2 separate regions of the Homo sapiens genome follow, and region 1 is linked to region 2. The links are contacts of gene promoters, found by promoter capture Hi-C in blood cells and fetal thymus (Javierre and others, 2016). All regions are on one chromosome and are shown on one strand. The core of a region is centred on a gene start or on the middle of the fragment in contact, and the rest is flanking DNA. Distances in the headings are between cores, read along the strand shown. Region 1 overlaps VPS41 (VPS41 subunit of HOPS complex). Region 2 holds the start of YAE1-DT (YAE1 divergent transcript).

Region 1 (3,096 bases), core at 62-2,561, 810 kb after region 2:
GGGGTAGAAATCTTTACAGACTATTTTATCTTATATAGTCTTAAGAAAACAGGGCTGTCACGGTGGCTCACATCTGTAATCCCAGCACTTTGAGAGGCCAAGGTGGGAGGATTGCTTGAGCCCAGGAGTTCAAAACCAGCCTGGGTAACATAGTGAGACCTGTCTATAAAAAACTAAAAATTAGCTGAGTGCTGTGACATATGCCTGTACTCTCAGCTATTCAGGAGGCTGAGGTGGGAGGATCACTTGACCCTAGAGGCTGAGGCTGCAGTGAGCTGTGATCATGCTACTGCACTCCAGCTTAGGTGACGGAGTGGGACCCTTTCTCACAAAAAGAAAGAAAGAGGCTGTGTGTGGTGGCTCACCCCTGTAATCCCAGCACTTTGGGAGGCTGTGGGAGGCTGAGGCGGGCGGATCACAAGGTCAGGAGATGGAGACCATCCTGGCCAACATGGTTAAACCCCGTCTCTACTAAAAAAAAAAAAAATACAAAAATTAACCAGGCATGGTGGCATGCACCTGTAGTCCCAGCTATTTGGGAGGCTGAAGCGAGAGACTTGCTTGAGCCTAGGAGGCGGAGGTTGCAGTGAGCCAAGATAGCGCCACTGAACTCCAGCCTGGGCGACAGAGCGAAACACCACCTGAAAAAAAAAAAAAAAAAAAAAAAAAAAAAAGAGAGGAAGAGAGAGAGAGAAAAACAAAGAAAGAGGGAGAGAGAGAGAAAGAAAAGGAAGGGAGGGAGGGAAGAAAGGAAGGACAAGGAAGGAAAGACAAGGAAAGGGAAACAGAGAAGGAAGAAAAGAAAGAAACTTGATCTGAAATATTATTTTGGTTCTACAAACATTTTAATGTTCTGATTGAATCCATTCCCAAATTTCTGAAGTAAAATTTCAATCATATTAATATATAAGAAGTTTGTAATCTAAATGGAAAATATGTGGTCTTTTGTTCTGGTCTCTTGCCATCCTTCCAGGGGCTACTTTGGTAGAAATCGGGTGGAACTTTAATGAAAACTATATTACTGATTCTTTTGCACTTTTCTTACCAAATCCTGGTGCATTACAGAAGCAGCTTCTATCACATTGTTTTCATTTCTAAGTATTATTTAAACAAATTCACAGTAGTTCATTAAAGTATTAATGGAGTTATTTAATAGTAATAATGTACTATTTTTTATATAAACCAAAAAGTGACTGAGACAGATCTCAATCGACTTTAAGGTTTATTTTGCCAAGGTTAGGGACATACTTGGGGAAAAGAAACAGGGTCTGTGTCCTGTGCTTTTTCCAAAGAGATTGTTGAGGACTTCAAAATTTAAAGGGGAAAGAGCAAGCAGGAGGCAAAGGAGCAAATTTTAAAAATAAATAAATAAATAAGTAGGGGGAGAGTAAGCAATGAGGCACTTGGTCACATTCCAGTGATGCTCTGATTAGCTCAGGAAATCTACGTTTTACATGTAAAAAGAGAGAAGTGGGGAAAAAGTCAATTATGCATTCATCTCTTGCTCAGTAGATCTAGCTTTGACATGAGCTAAAGGAAGCATGTGAAATGACAGCTCTCTGTTTGGGAACAAAAGGAAGGCAATTTTTGCATGACTCAGTTCCCTTAACTTTCCCTTTGGCTTAGTGAATTGGAGGTCCTGAGAATTTATTTTCCTTTCACATTTAATAACGTGGATGTTTTTAATTCTCTTTACTGTCTTATGAACATGTTTTTGTTCTAAACATTGTCAAGGATCAGTAAGTAAACTGCTCTGTCATACTTTGAGTTATAAAACATGAAGTCTAAAGTCGGGAATCAGGGAGTAGAGACTGAGCAAGATACTGGCCCAGAATCAGCTGTGGGACGGAAACAGGATCAAATCGGGGAACCACAAAATTTGAGATCTAGAGATAGCCAGGATAAGAGCCAGGGGATAAGACTTGAGCCAAAGTCTCAAATTCCAACATAAAACTGGCATTAGAAGCCAAAGTGGAAGGAGGACCAAGATGGTGACTTGTTAAAGATATAGAATGCTGGACAGTTTCACTGTGGGAGCAGCCCTGTCCCAAGCAGACTGCCACGGTCAGTTGTGCTGGCTATACAGTGCACAACTGCATAACCAGTTGCACCCAGCAGCCCAGGCCTAAGTGCATTAGAGGACTCTTGGTGGTGGGGAAAGTAGCTGACTTGGGTAATATCTGTAAGCTGTTAAAGCTGTCATCCAAATGTTACAGTTAGTCCAGAATGGGGATGGGGCAAGTCCAACCTAAACTCTTGTCCATGCACTTTATAGAAGGAACAAGATAGCTTTCTTAGTTGTACATTTCGTAAAACTAAGGACAGAAGTAGATGGCACGACCTGCCTCCCAGGAATGCTAAATGGAGATTTATTGTACAATAATATTCCCTGCAACTCTTCACCACACCCAGACCCATAGTCTGAAAATTGATGAAATATTTATTGAACAAACTTTTAATCATATAATTGTTTGGTCTGTTATGTGACTAAAAGTGAATACTTTTAGGGATGGTTTAAATTGTTTGGTTTGTTTTGAGAATTTAGGAGAAACCAAACTCAGTTTCTCATGCTATACTCTCACAACACAACACTTCTGTGACCAAATATCTGGGTTTTTCCGCTACACACCAAGAAAGCAATTAGTTCTGCAGTGGACACCAGCTGGATGTCCTCTAATTCAGTTCATTCTGACACTGTCTACATGAAGATAGCATCAGTTCCTGCAGGCTGAGGGCTCAGGCCCACAAGACTGCCCCCACTTCAGACATACCAATCACAAGTTATAGGCTGTCACCTGTACTTCCGACTGGTCAACTATAAACTGGAATTCCCACTACCACCTCCTTAGATTTGACTCATTTGCTAGAGCAGCTCATAGAACTCAGGGGAACACTTTACTTACATTTACTGGTTTATTATAAAGAATATTGCAAAGGATACAGATGAACAGCCAAATGGATTAGATGCAGAGGGCAAGGTATGTGGGAAGAGGCATGGAGCTTCCAGGTCCTCTTTGGGTGCACCACCCTCCAGGAACCTCCAGGTGTTCAGCTCTTGGGGAGCCCTCCAAAGCCACTCCTTTTGGGTTTTAATGA
Region 2 (3,243 bases), core at 447-2,946:
TATTTTAAGATACAAACTTCATATTTTCCTGTTCTTTCCTAACTGCTAATATTGTGTGGTATCTTACAGGTAGAAATCAACAGGATGGTACACTTAGTGTATTTTTACTCCTTAAAGAGCATACTCCTTAAAGGGCATACATAGTTTTCACCTTACAAGAAGGGGGAAAACCATAAATACAATGAATCAACTGACCATTATGTAGTAGACAATTTCTGTAATGTCCCCTTCTTTCTAGGCTCTGCGGATAGGAGAATCCACTAGACTTATAGTAGCATAATGTACAAGTTTTCTTTAAAGGTCTCTCCTTTAGAATATAAAATATTATACCATTGAAGAGTTTGGATGTGTAACCTGTGATGCCTTAGAAAAATATCCTAAGCACAAAATAAACTTTTCTAATCACTTCAAAAGATTAAAAAAACCAAAAAACAAAAAACAAAACCCAGCATTAGCAATGTCTTCACAAAAAGGATATATGGAAAATTACACATCTGGGCTCTTGCCAACTGATTGGAATGGTGTGGGTGGGTGAGGAGACAGGGCAAAGCAGAGAGAGGAAATTGTTTAAAAAAAAAAGGATGATGAGAAGTCTGGTTTCAGAAATTTTGCATAATACCTAAATTCAACTAACCTGCAAAAGCTCTGTGGGTAGTGATTTCGTTCTGCATCTCTCACGGTGCCACAGCATTTAAAAGATGCTCAATACTTATTAGTGTGGCCCCAGTCTCACATAAAGCATTTTTGTAATTGACAACATGGTTTTTGGGCTAAGCAAATACCACTCTACTGAAATATTAAACAGGGCAGATTCCCAACTGCAGCTTTAGCGGCAATTTAATGGTTGGCAAATATATTAAGTGGATGTGGACCTCACTATTTGGTCCTCACCCAGAAATACTGTAGGCTGCACACAGAAATTAAGCTTAGTTTCAATGAATAGTGAGACAAATTAGAGATGAAAAAGTTACATCTAACAAATAAAAAAGAAACCAACTTTAATATTCCCTTACCTAGACACCAGTATTCCACATTAGCTTTCCCTTATTGTCCTCTGACAGCATGCTTTAGTTCATCTTTTCAATATGTCTTGATTAACACTACTCCTTAACTTTAGGCTCCCTACCCATTCAAGCCACCCATATAAACTGCGTACACGTCCTTTGACAGCCATAATAAGTATAGTGTATGTTTCTCTCCAGCTCCTTTCCCTGTGATCCTCAACAAACTGCAAACTGTTCAAAGTCTACACATAGTTAATTTTGGTCGGTCCTCAGTTTCTAACGCATCCCGTAGGCGCTCAAAGAATGCGTCTTGTTGTTTTACACGCTTTCAAGTAACCATCGAGAAATCCTAGCAAGACGCGGGTCGGACCGGGTCCCTAGGGATAAAGAGAGCAGCGCCGGGCCAGGCTGGGGCCACTCTGGACCCAGCTTCTTCACAACTCCGCGCCTCTTCCCACAACCCAGCACCCCGCGCCGTCCACACCACGTTTACTTTGACTCGTCTTTGCATGTTACTCTGCCATTCCCGCTGCGCCAGGAGCGACTCGTCTGCTTCTTCGTCAAACACGTCCCCTTTGTCTCCAGGGCCCTGGATCAAGGAGGCTGCTTGAACCCACGACATCACCGAGGCAATTACGGGGTCGCAGGCCACCGGAAGCGCCAACAACTCCTTCCGGTCCGAAGGCGGGGCGAAGACGGCGAGTGGAGGCTCGGGAGGGGCTGCGTGTGCGCGGAGGCGGGCTGTGGCCCGTGGCCGCCGCCGGAGCCTTTCGCTTGCGGTGATTTTGGGCTCCCTCGGTTGGCAGTGTTGATGTGTGCCTGTGAGTTGTGAGCGAGGCAGATTTCCTCGCGTGGCCGGCACGACCTTCACCTTTGCAGAAGGCAACCGGGACCCTCAGTGAGACACCTTCCATTTCCACCGTAGTCTTACCATGGTCTGGGTTTTACATTCGCGCGCTTTGGTAAACTATTAAAGGTAGTAAAGTCGATGGGCGATTACCACCCAAATACTTTGTCTCTTTTGGAATCTCCTCTGCATTTAAAGGATTTGACAAGCCGACATTTTAAACTGTTAGGATTGTGGAGTAAAGGAAAATAGGATCGAAAAGCGAGGTACTGTAGCCAATTTGAGATTAGTAAGAAATATAGAGTACATTTGTAAAGCCAATATATTTTTTCATTGATTCACGATATCCTTCTGCCTCCCATTCCTGTTCATATGCCCTAAAGTAAACAGTTGGTTTGGTAAGGGTGGGGACTTGTGTCAACACCAGGACAGTTCTGACACATAGTAAATGCTGAACTCTATTTTGGTGAATGAATGAATACCTGTAGTATTCCTGTTTTGCCCTTTGCCTGGGTAAAATGAGTCATGTGATTATGATTTATTTATCTAACAATTTATTGAACACCTACCTTGTGTCAGGTACCATTCCAGGCTTTGGGATACATCAATGAACAGACGGAAGTTCCCAACCCTTGTCGACTTTATAGTCATGTAAAATTGACAGGATAAACAATAAGCAATATATAAGTAGCATAAGGTTTGTTAGAAGATCATAAATAAATGCTATGAAAAAAATTTTTAAATAAGCACAGTAAGAACCATAAGTGTGTGGGAGTGGGTGGTTGGTTCATGTTACAATTTTAAATCTCCAGAGAGAATTTGGCATCCCACAAATAAAAAATATATAAACTACAAATATGTATATTTTATTAATGTAAATATATTAAGATATATGTATATATCTTTATTAGGAACAAAATGGTAGTAAGCAATAAAGATAACAATAAAATAGAAAACCTCAAAACTTGAATAAGTAAGTCCAATTCTTTTTTGTATTATTTGAAAACACCAATAAGATAGATAATCCTGTCATGACCCAGATTTTTAAAGAGAACAAAATTATACAAGAATGAGAAATGAGATAACCACTGATGCAGAAGGAGATTAAAATATTAATTACCAACTAAAACTCAAAAGCAACACATTCGAAAACCTGAGAGATATGAATGACTTTCTAAGAAAATTGACCCAAGAAGTAGGGTCATGAAGAGACTAATTACCATAGAAAAATTGGACATTAAATATCTACTATTAAAAATGTCATGGAGACTTGGGAGTTTCACATTAAGTCCTTTGCAATCTTTAAGGAATGATGGAGTCTTAAACTATTTTTACCATTTTAGGGGAGAGAAAAAGAAGAAACTCCTTAAATCATTTCATGAAGCCAGCCTT

Evidence for each region. The method cuts DNA at HindIII sites, captures the fragments that hold promoters and counts their contacts. A CHiCAGO score of 5 or more calls a contact.
Region 1: a fragment that was not itself captured here is called in contact with the fragment with the promoter of YAE1-DT in region 2 in 3 of 17 cell types (M1 macrophages, M2 macrophages and megakaryocytes); the score reaches 7.9 in M1 macrophages.

The regions. Positions count from the first base shown.
Region 1 is chr7:38,758,842-38,761,937 of GRCh38, reverse strand. All of the region lies in intron 17 of VPS41 (VPS41 subunit of HOPS complex), which reads left to right. Among named protein-coding and RNA genes, the nearest start is that of AMPH, 130 kb to the right of the region's middle. The HindIII fragment of the contact is 3,581 bases long and covers 1-3,096 here.
Region 2 is chr7:39,564,802-39,568,044 of GRCh38, reverse strand. YAE1-DT (YAE1 divergent transcript) reads left to right here and starts at 1,696. Exons shown (of 3, transcript NR_187579.1): 1 at 1,696-1,902. It overlaps YAE1 (YAE1 maturation factor of ABCE1), which reads right to left and starts at 1,641. Exons shown (of 3, transcript NM_020192.5): 1 at 1,498-1,641. The coding sequence starts at 1,626. It also overlaps the pseudogene TMX1P1. RefSeq lists an enhancer at 1,355-1,804. The HindIII fragment of the contact is 5,827 bases long and covers 928-3,243 here.